2 separate regions of the Homo sapiens genome follow, and region 1 is linked to region 2. Evidence: promoter capture Hi-C in 16 types of primary human blood cells and fetal thymus (Javierre and others, 2016). All regions are on one chromosome and are shown on one strand. The core of a region is centred on a gene start or on the middle of the fragment in contact, and the rest is flanking DNA. Distances in the headings are between cores, read along the strand shown. Region 1 holds the start of LONRF3 (LON peptidase N-terminal domain and ring finger 3). Region 2 holds the start of PGRMC1 (progesterone receptor membrane component 1).

Region 1 (6,922 bases), core at 108-2,607, 260 kb after region 2:
CAGAGACAGTGACACCGAAAAAGAAAGAAACAGTGACAAAGATACGAAGAGACGGAGAAAAAGAACCAGAAGCAAGGAGACACAGACAGGAACGGGGACTGAGAGACAGGAACACAAAAGCTAACAGAAGTAGCAGGAAAAGACAAAAAGCAACCGAGATCAACACAAACACAGTGAAACACAGATAAGCAGTGAAAACAGAACAAACTCAGAGACCCAGCCCCAGAATCACCCCTCCCCCACCCCGCCACAGTCCATGGGTCCCCCGCCCCCTCTTCTGCCCTGGTCCAAATCCCTTCTCGCTGCGGGGTTTGTTCTCCCGCTCCCTCATGTAGCCACCGAGCCCCAGCCCCGGCCCGGCAGCGCGTTGGACTCACCCAACTTAACTGCCTCGTTGTACTTGAGCAGTGCCGCCTCCACCTGGCGCTCGCGGTACAGTCGGTTGCCCTCGTGCCGGAGTTGCGACGCTCGCGCTGGGCCTGGAAACAACTTGCCGAGGAGGCCGCTGAGCACCACGTTGACTCGCAGCGGCGGCGGCGGCTGCTGCCCAGCCCGCCGGGCTCCACGCGCCCGCCCAGTGGCCACCATCAAGGCGGAGAGCTTGACCCCGCACAGCGCACAGCGCCGGTCGGCGGCCCGCCCACGTTCCAGGCACAGTTTACAAAAGGTGTGGCCACACGACAAGGACACGGGGTCTGATAGAAACCCATGACATTTCCGGCACTTAAAGCCGTCCCACACCTCGGTGGCCGCCGCAGCCGCGGCGGCCCCCGTCTCTTCCGCCGCCACGGTGCCGCTTGCAGTGCTACCCTCGTCCGGGGGCGCCGGCGCCAGCGCCTCGCCTTGCGGGACTTTCTCCGCCAGGCAGCGCACCAGCTGCTCCAGCTGCTCAGCCACCAGCTGCTGCCGCTCGGAGAGCTGTCTATACACCTCGAGGGCTTCACGGATTCGCCCCCGGGACGCCAAGGCGTCTGCCTGCGTGAGCAGGACTTTGCTCTCCGGCGTTGAGGTCCCCGGAGACTGCTCTTGCTCTGGCTCCCGCGTCGGTAGAGGTGCGGGGCCCTCTGCAGCCACCTTTGGGTGGGGGCCCATGTCTACTTGGGCCGCTGATGCCCCTCGCTCCGCCGACTCCAAGTTGTCGCTGCTGACCTCAGCGGGCAAGCTCAGCATCTGTTCGATCCGTACTGACTCCATGGGAAGAGGGACACGGGAGGAGACGAGGCGTCTAGGGACCGGGGACACGAAGCAAGGAGTGGCAGCTGGAGGAAATCGGGGCAGCCACCGCCGCCATGCCACCGAGCTCCTGACCCTGCCGCGCCTCCGGGAGCTCCATGCCGGCCGCCCCGCGCCGCCTAATAACTGTCTTGTCTCAGCAAAGTGTTATATAAAACGGTACCACGTGACGTGCCGCCACGCTGTTCATTGGCCGGCGGCGGGGAAATTGTTACAAAACCAGACAGTTTTGTAACAGTGTTGCTCTTGCTTCTTTGGGCTTCGCTTTTCTTGGCTTCTTTTTGAGGTTGTTTGTGTTTACACTTCGCCTTATTCCTCCTCACCACCTGGTTCTTTTTCGGAAGTGGGGTTGTGGGGTGGGGAGAAACTCAGTGTCTTCTCTTGGGCTTCTCAGTCTCCAAACCCCACTCCATCCCACCTCCAAACGGGCCAGCAAACAGGTCCCCTCTGCCAGCCGCTGACCAGCGGCCCCCCACTCCTCCCAGGAGAGGCTGGTACCTCGAGGTGCACAGTCCGCAGGGTCTTCCGGGACGCCTAAGACTCTCCCTCTTGGGGGAGATGGCTGCTGTCAGGGAAAGGAAGCAGGTTGGGAGGGGTATCCGTGAAGCCCCCCCACACACACACAACCCAGTCCCAGCCCGAGAGCCCTGGGAGCCCCGCCTGGGTTCCTTGCCTTCTCCCAGGAGCCTCCCAAAGGTGGTGAATTCGGTTTCTGAGGGTGCTTGGTGTTCTGTGCCAAGAGTGACTCAGAGCAGCGGGTCCCACCGGCGCAGAAGTTGGGCAGCGCTCGCTGGACAGTGAGGAACTCGCGGAGAAGATGCGCTTGCCGGCTCAGCCCTGGGAGGGAGATGCCCCGCTAACTCCCCTCTTTACCTCTCTACCCCCAACGCCAGAACTAGCGCTGGGGCAGGCGGTAGGCGCCCAGCTGGAGACACACCAGGCCGGCCCCTGGAGCCACTGGCCGGATGGGCGCGGCAGGGATGTACCCGGCCTGCTGGGGTCGGTGGGTACTCTGGGGGCGTGGGAGAGTGGCAGGGGGAAGACGCGAGCTGAGAGCGCTATTCAGGAGAAAGTCCGCGAATCCCGGCACAGCCCAGTGGCAGACCGAATAGCCTCCAGGTTTGTCGCTCCTGAGCGCTGCGCGGGAAGGGTACAACTGGGCACGAGCCTCAGCGCCTGGTTTACAATGGCTAGGGGGCCTCGACGGTGTCCTACACACTTCCTGAAGGCGAGCGGGGTGGCCAACTGCACACTCTTTGTCTGCCTTGAACCCCCACATTTAGGACGGGAACCAAGCTCACAAATGAGCAGACAGAAAACGGTATAGTCGCACTGCTCCAAGCAGGGAGGCAGGGACTAGGCTTGCCGCTGGCTCAGTTGGCCTTCAGAGCCTGCGGGCTCTTGGGCAGTGCCAGGTTGCCGCCCCAGGGGCCTGAAGACCTATTGTTGCCCCCTGCTGCAGCCACCTCTTAGCCAGATGACCTTGGGGAAGTCAAACTTTAGAATCCATCATTTTTGCTTCTGAACAAATGTTAGAGCTGATCTTACTTGGGATTAAGTCATGTTTCAGAGTTGGGTTATGGCAGGCCCCCTCGGGTCTCTGCTTCTCTTTAGGTAGTTAAACCAGTCTTAGATCAACACCAAGGTCCCAGAGAACAGGTACTATGCAGCCAGCTCTAGAGCCTCTTTCTAATAAGACAGGACAGAGGGAGAGGGTCACAGGGCAGAAAGGAAGCATCACATAGGGGAAAAAAGACACACACACGAAAAAAAAAAAAAATGAAGAAGAAGGAGAAGGAGAAGAAGAAATAGAGAAACTCCAGATGTAGTCAGGAAAGCACGAGGGACACATTGGAAAACTTGGCTTGAAGCCTTGGATTTGTCACATATTTGCTATGAAACCTTAGGTAGGTTCTCCAAACCTTAGTTTCTCTTAATCTCCAAGGTTCCCTCCAGCTCTAACCTTGAGTGGCTTTGATCCTAAGACCAAATTTCATGATACTAACTCAGTTACTTAAGTACAAATGACTAGTCCAAATGCTGTGGATGGTGGCTTGAACCGGGGTTGAGGGGATGGGAAATCAATGGAAGATTGTCCATTTAGTCGGGGTCAGACCTGAGCTAGATTTTTTTTTTTTTTTTGAGATGGAGTTTGGCTATTGTTGCCCAGGCTGGAGTGCAATGGAACGATCTCAGCTCACCACAACCTCCGCCTCCCAGGTTCAAGTGATTCTCCTGCCTCAGCCTCCCAAGTAGCTGGGATTACAGGCACGTGCCACCACAGCTGGCTAATTTTTTTGTATTTTTAGTAGAGACGGGGTTTCTCCATGTTGGTCAGGCTGGTCTCGAACTCCTGACCTCAGGTGATCCGCCCGCCTCAGCCTCCCAAAGTGCTGGAATTACAGGTGTGAGCCACCGCGCCTGGCCCCTGAGCTAGATTTTTAAGATGTAGAAGTCGGAGGACTGGCTAAGAGGTGGAGGAGGTGGCCATACCAAGCAGTAGGGGAGAAACTGGAGTTCCTGGTGAGTTGCTATCTAACTGAAGGGAGCTCTTTTCACCTCTCAGTTTCCCCTACTATCAAATGAGGTCCCCAGCACTAATTATCTGCCTGCCCCTTCAGGCATCTGTGAGGAAGGACAGTCGTTGGGGAAGGTAGAGATTCATGAGATAGATAATGATGAAACCATCTTAATTCAAGAGCTTTACCCCTTTGACATATCTAAAATATATATATATATGTCTGTTACCCAAAATTGTTTCCTAGATGCAAATCTGGGATGTGCTTTGCTCCGTGGATGACCTTGACAAGGGAATATCCCCTGGGTTGATTCCCCTCCCTTGCCCTGTTATGGTAGGAAGGCTAAGAGAGGGCCAGGTCAGGTAGAGAGTCACAGTCCTGCAGGCATGGAGAAGAGAAGCTCTCTCCAGGCAGGCCCTCTTGGCTGCCAGTGCAGGAGGTTGACCGTGAACTTGGTCAGGAATGTGAATAGCAGTCTGGATAATGCGAGGTACTCTGGTGTAAATGGCAGTACCAGCTACTCACTGACCAGACTCCACAGGGAGTTTTACATTGTAATCAAGACTGCCTGTAGGACAACACCAAGTGGGTTTCTATTGAATGCTGAAAAACATTATCACAGTGGTTTTCTTTCTTTGTTTGTTTAAGTTAAACAAATATTACCATTACATTGATAGACATTGTTGAACCAATTCAGAAGTCTCCTACTCAGAATTTCCTTCCCTCTGCTCTTACTAATTGGAGCCCCCCTGGAATGAGGGGAAGGGGGAGATTAACACCATCTTTTTCAGGTGCAAATATTCCCTTTGGAGTGTAAGGTTCTTTAAACCTCCATTTATTTTGCTAGGATCACCTTGTGGCTAAGGTTAACCAAGAAGAGAGAGCAAGGATTGAGCTGCCCCTCATTTTCAACTAGTAGTTTTCCAACTGGACTCTCAAGAATCTCTTTGGGGCTCAGAGGAGACAAGCAGACAGGCTTTGACCCTAGCTCCCCTCAAGCAGGGCAGTATTGTATCCATCTGTTTCACATAACTGAGCCTCCAGGTATGATTTCTTTGAAGAAAAGCTGTCCCTTACAATATCAAGTTTGAAAACCATAGCAATTTTCACACATTTTCATATATTTGTTGGGCATCTTCCACATACCAAGGACTGTTCTAGATACTGGAGACACATCAAAGCAGCAGCCGGGTGTGATGGCTCATGCCTGTAATCCCAGCACCTAGGGAGGCTGAGGTGGGTTGATCACGGCGAAACCCCGTCTCTACTAAAAATACAAAAAAAAAAAAAAAATAGCAGGGCATCATGGTGCACGCCTGTAATCCCAGCTACTTGGAAGTCTGAGGCAGGAGAACGGTTTGAAGCCAGGAAGCAGAGGTTGCAGTGAGCCAAGATCACGCCACTGCACTCCAGTCTGGGCGACAGAGTGAGAGACTCTGTCAAAAAAAAAAAAAAAAAAAAGCAGCACATAACTCCCAGGCTCTCCCTCACTTATGATAGTGCATCTTTCCCCACATACACACATCCTTGTACTGGCTTCCCATGTAGGCTAGAAGCTTCAGAGGGCAAGGACTGGTGTCTTATATCTCCTCCAGTGACATAAGCAGGACAGTGCTTGAACAGATCTTACTGAACATGCCAGTGGACATTCTGGCCCTAGGAGTGTGCAGAGGGACAAGAGGAAACAGTTGGAATGCCATGCACTGTGGTCATTCACAAAGCAGAGACTGGGCACACAAACAACAAATGGTTGACAGTCCTGTACTTGGAAAGGCCTGCTGAGCAACTCTGGGACGAAAGAGTCCATTCGAAGCCAGAGACCTGTAGTAAGGTGTAAGCAACCCCGCACACACATACACATGCACACACTCTATGCCTGGAAGCTTGGCCAAAGCACACATTTGTTCTGTATCTGATATTCTCATTTTATAAACTGGGGTGACCCATAAATCTGCAGTCCTTACAGGGGGAAAAAAAGGAACCATGGACATTAATGGTATTGATATGGAAAGCAAGACCGCTCCTTGCTATACAGAGTAGCCAAAACCCACAACTAAAAGAAAGTTTAGCCGGGCATGGTGGCTCACGCCTGTAATCCCAGAACTTTGGGAGGCCGAGGTGGGTGGATCACTTGAGGCCAGGAGTTCAGGACCAACCTGACCAACATGGTGAACCCCCATCTCTACTAAGAATTAAAAAAATAAATTAGCGGGAGTGGTGGCGCGTGCCTGTAATCCCAGCTACTGAGGAGTCTCAGGCAGGAGAATTGCTTGAACCCAGGAAGTGGAGGTTACAGTGAGCCAAGATCGCACCATTGCACTCCAGCCTGGGCGACAAAGCAAGACTCTGTTTCAAAAAAAAAAAAAAAAAAAAAAAAAGGAAAGAAAAGGAAGGAAGGAAGGAAGGAAAGTTAGCTTACACATCAGCTCTGGTTTCACAAATGAGGCCACTGAACACTAGAGAAGGCAAGTGACTTGCCACAGGTCATAATGAATTTGATACAGCCAAATTGGAAGCTAGGGCTCATATCTCTTTGTTTATAAAATTTTTTTTTTCATATGATCAGAAAGCTAAAGAGCACAGAACATCTCCTTCTTTTTTTTTTTTTTTGAGACAGAGTTTCGCTCCTGTTGCTCAGGCTGGAGTGCAATGTCGTGATCTTGGCTCACTGCAAACTGCGCCTACTGGATTCAAGTGATTCTCCTGCCTCAGCCTCCTGAGTAGCTGGGATTACAAGCATGTGCCACCGCGCCCAGCTGATTTTGTATTATTTTAGTAGAGACAAGATTTCTCCATGCTGGTCAGGCTGGTTTCGAACTCCCGTATCTCCTTCTTATTACTTATTGTAAGAAATTATTTCAGATTTCCCACCTACAAGATTTTCATCAGTTCAGCAAATATTTATCGAGCATATACTATGTGCTAATGGAGTTGGCATTTGTAGGGCAATAATAGGATGTGACACAGTCCTTATCCTCTAGTAGCTAACTGAGGAAACAAGAGACAAAGATTTAAAAAATAACAGGCAGTCTGTAAGAAGTGCCAAAATTAAGGGAACAGTGTGTCCACGGAAGCCCTCAAAGGGGACAGACTGCAATGCAGTCTCATGGAAAAGGTGCTTTTAAGCTAGGTTGGAGAGGATTTAAATAGAGAAGTGAGACCATCCTGCG
Region 2 (6,848 bases), core at 3,870-6,369:
AGACTTGGAAGTTATATGTAGCCTGCTTGAGACCAAAACTCAAAGGCAGAGACACATCTGGCTAATTATTAATCCAGAACTCTCTCTGAAGTCAGCATTATTTTCAAAGAAAATGGTTGGATATAGCCAAGAGAACATGTAATATTTAACTGATTATAGAGAACACACATAGAAAACTACATTTTAAATGAAAAATCTTCAAATAATGCTCATGGTCTTTATATACTGTTTCATAAAAGCTGGGAAAGACTCTTATTCAAATTCTTGGCAGTGAAATATTGCTAGAGTGACAATTAAACAGTTAGATTTGACAGAAACCAATTCCTGAATTCTCAAAATCTGAACTTAACCCCTCATTCCTATTTCTCCCCAAAGACCTCAGCCCATAGCATAAGCCAGAAACAAGCATCTCCTTTTTACTTTCTTTTTAAAAATGCAGACACCATTGCTGCTGGGCACATTATAAGCATCATTTGTAGATGAGGCCTATAGTTAGGTTCAATTAGATTCAAAGAGAAGCTGTTTCACAGAATACAAGTCTCCCATTCTTCAACAGAGATGTGGGCTGCTTTTAAACGGCAAGCTCTACAAGAGAGGGCTTATGAAAATCCCTTTCTGTAGCCAAGATGGACACTGTCCTTTCCCTGACACACCAAGCACCAAATCCTCATTTGGAATCTAGCAAATCTCTCAAAAATTTTAAAATCAAAACCAGAAACCCAAGTTTCCATAGAGAACTGGCTAAAAATTGGTATGCAATCATAGCAAGTGACTCAGCACTGCTACAATTACTTCAAGCCATGAACTTGATGCGTCCAAGATTAAGGAGCCTATCAAAATGCACCCAAGTTTCAGGCTGCTTAGTAATAACTATTGTCCTGCCACGAATCCCCATTACTGGTAGAAATTTGACCCAGACACAATTTTAAAAATGCTTACAAGTGAACTGAGACTCCCAGTCACTCAGAGTCTCCTGCTGGGCAGCAGTGAGGTCAGAAAGGTCATCGTACTCATCCTTCAGTGCTTCCTTATCCAGGCAAAATGTGGCAAGGCCCCTGGATGCATCTCTTCCAGCAAAGACCCCATACGGCCCCTCTTCAAAAACAAAACCAAAGATCAATTCTTTATTAGACAGTCAATTTCTCTGTGATTTATACACAGAAAATGGCTTCCCTATTCATCAACATAGCCCCATTTTTGAATATCAAATTCCATTAGGAAACCATAGTAATGCTGATATTCTGAACATTATGTAGGAGACACAGAAAGACCTGTTGTCATTTAACTTTTAAATAACTAAAAGTAAATCAAACTGCTATACATTTGCGTCAGTCTCCTGTGGTTTCCAAATAGCTAGTAAAAAAGTCATACGTGGTTAGTGATCTCTTGGGGTAGTGGTAGTAGGGAATCATACAAGAACATTGAACTGGGAGCCTGACAGTTCTAGGCACTTGGGGCTACACCAGTGAGAGTTATGGTTTCTTAAGATAATAAGCACTGATGTGTACATGAAAACACATTTCCTTATGAATATATTCTGATATGTTTTAATGAAACAAAGGTATCTTATAGAGATCTTTGGTTCCAAGGCTCAATTAAACATTAACTCATGGCATCTGCAGAAGAACCATTTTATAACAGTATCGGTGGTTTAAAAATCTATCCACATTACATAACCTTCACTGTCAATAAATAGATAACACAGAGATCAGTCTTCATTATCTGTTTTTTGGTGGGCTTGAGAAGACTGTGAAAATACTAAAATTTTCATGGAAAAGAGGCTGAATCAATACTGCAAAACAACTCTATAAAACAACTCTATAAAATGTGATTATTTGTGATATTATACTGAACTTTTGTCTAAGAGAGCAGAGAATCATTCTGTGGGTACACAAAGTGGATATTTAGACTTATTTAAATATTGCACAACTAAATGAAGAGAATCCAGTGTACTTTAAACAATGTGTTGTTTCCCCCAAGGCAGATTGAATAGCAGCCCTGACATTAAAATGTTTGTAGGGAACCAAGTATGAGAATAGATCAAGTTTCAATATGGCCTGTTCACCTGAAACCTCAATACACTCAGAAATTTTTTACAAATTTTACAACTTTTAAATGCAAGTAAAATTCCAAAGAAAAATGCTTATTTTTAATCATCATTACATGCTGCCACATTCACTAAAGAAGGTAAAAAAAAGCCCACATTTTTCATAAATGTACACCCCTAGTGGAAATGGCAGCACCTAGTGCTTGAGAATAGGCAAATGCAATGGTTTGAACCTTACCATTTCAGAAATTATGGTCATTGGCTTGGTAGAGTGAGTCTTTACCAAGCAAACCTCATAGAATATTTAAACATAGAATATTTAAACCTCATAGAATATTTAAACATTTAAACAATTAAATGTTCTCTAGTGGGAACATTAAAAGTCTTTTAAAAATACATATTATTCAGTGCAACATATATTCACTAGAACGTAAGCTCCATAGGCAGAGATTTGTGTCTGTTTTGCTCACTGCTATATTCCCACATCTACAACAGTGCCTTGCACAGAATTAACAGGCACTAGAATGACTAATTTTTAGGAATCCTTTACAACATGAAGCATCACTTTCTACCAAGATGTCACGTAGTCATGGGCTCACTGAATGACAGTGCAAGATAGAGACAGAGATCTCACAATAGGCCATCTTTATCACTTTTCAGAGGGAAAACTAAGGCTCTGAGAGAACAATGCTTTGCACAAGGTCACACAGCTAGTCATGACCCAATCAGGACTAGAACGCAGGTTGCCTGACTCCCAGTTTTGTGCTCTGTGCACAGGCTGACATCCTCTCAATGACTCTGCAAACTACAGTCATGATGATGCCTCATGCACATGTTTTCACTCCTTTAATATTGAGCTCAATATTAACAGGTATTTACATGATTATGTTTATTGATAAAGCAACTATGTGTGCTACTCTAAGTGACAAATAATGTATGTGGTTTTCAAATGATTTTGACAGTTACATGCCTATAGAAAGCAGGTATTCTAAAATATCCACAGGCCCGGTGCAGTGGCTCATGCCTGTAATCCCAGCACTTTGGGAAATGGAGGTGGAAGGACTGCTTGCGCCCAGGAGTTCGAGACCAGCCTGGGCAACACAGGAGGGAGACCCTGTCTCTAAAAAATAAATAAAATTTATTTTTTATAATAAATAAATGTCTGCAAGAAAAAACTGAGCTCCTTAACCTTAACACATCTGATTTTGATCAGTTGGACTGGGAGACTAAAATGAATGCCTGAGTTTGTGTACTGCCTTCTGTACTCTTCCCTCTCTCAGGCCAGTGTGGAATGAGCACCGTCCATGTGGACATCCTCTAAGCTCCCTGTGTTTAGAGGAGTCCATATTGGAGGAGCCAAAACCTCTTCTTCCTCATCTCCAAGTATTCTATAAAGCAGGACTTTGCAAGCCTGGCTGCTTTTCAAATTCGCCTGGGAAGCATATTAAAATACAGACTCCCGGACCACCCGAGACTCATTTGCAGCTCTGGCGGTTAGACTGGGAATCTGTATTTTTCCTCAGATGCATCAGGTGATTCTGATACGCAACCAGGTTTGCAAAAACCTCGCCTCTAAGGAACCCATCAGGCCTGCCTTCTCCAACAGCTCAGCAGTGCAGCAGTCATCCATTCTTCATTTCCCTCTGGTTGGCTTTTCCTGATATCCCCCCACCCAGCAGTCTTCTTAGCTCTACTCCTTTTGTTTCTTGGTATCCTCCCACTTCTCCCTCCCTCCATTTTAATTTTTCTTGGCTTCTAATCCTTTCTCTCCTGCTATAGACTAAATACCATATTACCTTAAAAGCTTGCCACGTTACCATTGTCCACCATATTCAGCCTTTATTCCTCCCTCAAACAGCCCCCTTCCTCCTTGTTCACCTTCCAGCCTTTCCCCATCTGCCACACACAGCACAAGCGCACACAGACCAAACACATGCCACACACATACCTGACGCATGACCCATTTCAAGCGCGCATGCACACACCACACACACACACCCCTGATAAATCACATACACTAAACACGCACACACCGCGCATGCACACACCACGAGTGCACACACACATCACTATCCACCGGGCACAAAGCTTTTACCTGCTGCTAATCCCGTCTCGGCGTTTTCTCCCACACCCTCATATTTCAAACCTACTCCCGGTGTCATTGGCCTTCCCGTCTTCTCTAGGTCTGGACCTTTTCTCACTCTCGCCCTCCCCCATGCCTCCCTCGGAACACCCTCATTTCCTTCCTAGAACCCGACACTACCCCCTCCTCCTTCCAGGAATCCCCAAGCCCAGGACCTTCGAAAACTACCCCAACAGCCTGGGCTTTGATGTGTCCCCCCTCAACGCCTTCGAGCTTCGTGGTCCCACCCACCCCCGGCTTAAGCGCCTCAGCCTTCTTTCTCTAACCCCCTCCCAGCGCTGTCAGCGCGGGCCGGGGATCCGCGTCCCTGACTGGCCCGCAGCCCCTCTAGAGCGCCTCTTGTTCCCTGCCCGCCCCGGGAGCCTCCCGGCTCTCCGCCTGCCCGCCTACCCGCCTACCCTAGCTCGCCGCCATTCCTCCCTCCACTCAGGGGCGCCCCGCTCCCGCCTCGCCTCTCTCCCGCCCAGCCCCGTGCCGGGGCCCCCTTCTTTTGTCTCCAAGCCCCCCTCGCCGGCCGCGTACCGGGCCCGTAGAATTTGCGGCCTTTGGTCACATCGAACACCTTGCCGTTGATGGCCATGAGTATGCGCGGGTCCTGGACGCCGTCGAAGCGCCGCAGCTCGGCGGGGGTGAAGTCGCGCCGCTTGAGGCGGGGCAGAGGGGGCGGCTCGTCGTCGTCGCTGTCGCCGCTGGCCGCCGGCTGGTCCCCGCGCACGATCTTGTAGAGCAGGAAGATGCAGAGGCCAAGCAGCAGCAGGTTGAGCGGCGACGTGAAAATCTCATGCAGCAGCCCGCCGCTCTCCAGATCGCTTGGGTCGGCGCCAGTCGCCACCACATCCTCGGCAGCCATGATCTCTGGAGTAAAGGTTGGGCCGCGCTAGGCAGGGATCCGGAACTCGCCACTTTCTCCTCCCTCTGAGCGAGCGAGTGGCGCGCGGGGTTCGGCGGCGGCCAAAGACTAGCCGGGGAGGAGGCGGGGCCTGAGGGGCGGAGCCTCCAAGCCCCGCCTCCCCCGAGGCCACCTAAGCGCCCCGCCCTGCTCGGTCCCGCCCCGCAGCCCTCAGGCCCCCTCCAAAGCCTCTAGAGTCCGGCGCCGCTCCCCCGCGGCCGCGCGGTGCCCCCCTCAGTTCTACCTGGGAGGCCCCAGCCCAGCCTCACGCCATCCTCGCGCCATCCTATAGCTGAGCGCGACGCACGCGCTGCCCTCCTCTGAACCCCTTTTTTGCTCCTCGCAGACCGACCCGTTGGGAGGGCCTCGGCATTGCCGGGCTCTGTGCGAGCGCCCCTCCGCCACCTGATGCGCGCCAGACACCGACTCCCTTTCTGTTGCTGCAGGCTTTTCCCTGCCTCCCATTCTGAAGCCCCTCATCTTCCCCCTGCCGTTCCCGGGCCCTCCAAGCTGTCTTAGGAGACAGGAAACTCATTCTTCGAACTCCATTTTCTATGTTAGAGCCCTACACGACTCATTTTCACCTTGGGAACCCCCATTCGCTCTCCTTGATGGCCCTTCCCCAATTCTCCCCCAGATGCTGTGGGACCGACACCCCCGGGATTGCTAAAGTCAGTGCACAACTCTCCCTATTATCTGGGGAAACGAATCTGATCGCCCAGTTAACTTTGGGTTTGTTCTCCGAAAAACCCTTTTGCAATTACTGATTTGCTCAGTCACCAGGCATTAACAAGCAACGTTCTCTTGTTGCTCTTTTTTCCCCCCTCAGAATAATGTGAAAGTTTCTTTGTTTGGCAGCGTTCTTCTATTTGGAGTCTGTCAGGCTACCCTTGGCAGTCACAATAACCCTGAGCTGGAGCCCAGACAAAGGCGGGAGTTTGGAAGGATCCTAGGCCTGGTCCCTTCCTTTCCTAGGTATTTCATCCGGCCTTTGATGTGCTAACAGGCTGCACAGAAGCAGACCTCCACGGAGGAAGGGGTTGCCTCGTCCTAATCTGGCCCTTTTTCTGGTGGCGGGGGGAGGGGAGGAGAAGAAAGGATAGAGAGGGAAACAAATAATTAAAACCAAGCCGTGCACACATCTGCAGCCCAGAGCAGTACTTTTCCACCAAGTGTTCTGTTGGCTTGCACATAACTTACTCCTCCTCCCAACACGCAAGAGACTTGAGTAAAGATTGGCTTCCTACCTCAGAATTCTAAAAATTTCTGGCAAAAACTGCTTCCATCCCTGCCCCCCACATCTTCTTAAATCATTATAAAGTGCAATGAGCCAAACAATCTTTGTATCGGGCCCAGGCATTTTTCTCAGAGCTAAATTTGGGATTAGCTGAAACAGCCCCTCCAAATCTTTTGTCAAAACTCTTCAATTTAATCATGGAGAAACAGGCTCAAACTGAGGGCACTTGTCTATAGTTAGAATCTATCTCTTTTAACATGTATGGCCAAGAAAATTTAGAAAGCTAATAAACTTATAAAATATTTTCATTTGCAACTAATATGACAAAGGGTTAATATTTATTTGAGAGATCATTTGGATTGATAAGAAAATGTATAAGATTCTAGTCAATAAATGGGAAAAAATAGGAACAGGTAGTTCACAAAAGAGAGCATGCCAGTGGTGAATAAGCATATGAAAAATGTTCAGTCTCATTAGTAACAAAAAGAAAAGCATGGAGATGCCGCTGTCACCTACTACTTTTCTACAGGAA

What was found. The method cuts DNA at HindIII sites, captures the fragments that hold promoters and counts their contacts. A CHiCAGO score of 5 or more calls a contact.
Region 1: the fragment with the promoter of LONRF3 here is called in contact with the fragment with the promoter of PGRMC1 in region 2 in 11 of 17 cell types (monocytes, activated CD4 T cells, non-activated CD4 T cells and 8 more); the score reaches 13.5 in monocytes.

The regions. Positions count from the first base shown.
Region 1 is chrX:118,969,053-118,975,974 of GRCh38, reverse strand. It overlaps LONRF3 (LON peptidase N-terminal domain and ring finger 3), which reads right to left and starts at 1,357. Exons shown (of 11, transcript NM_001031855.3): 1 at 378-1,357. The coding sequence starts at 1,194. The HindIII fragment of the contact is 6,269 bases long and covers 1-5,310 here.
Region 2 is chrX:119,234,556-119,241,403 of GRCh38, reverse strand. PGRMC1 (progesterone receptor membrane component 1) reads right to left here and starts at 5,119. Exons shown (of 3, transcript NM_006667.5): 1 at 4,713-5,119; 2 at 940-1,095. The coding sequence starts at 5,040. It also overlaps the pseudogene NUDT19P6. RefSeq lists silencers at 4,507-4,656, 5,057-5,316, 5,347-5,396. The HindIII fragment of the contact is 8,490 bases long and covers 4,138-6,848 here.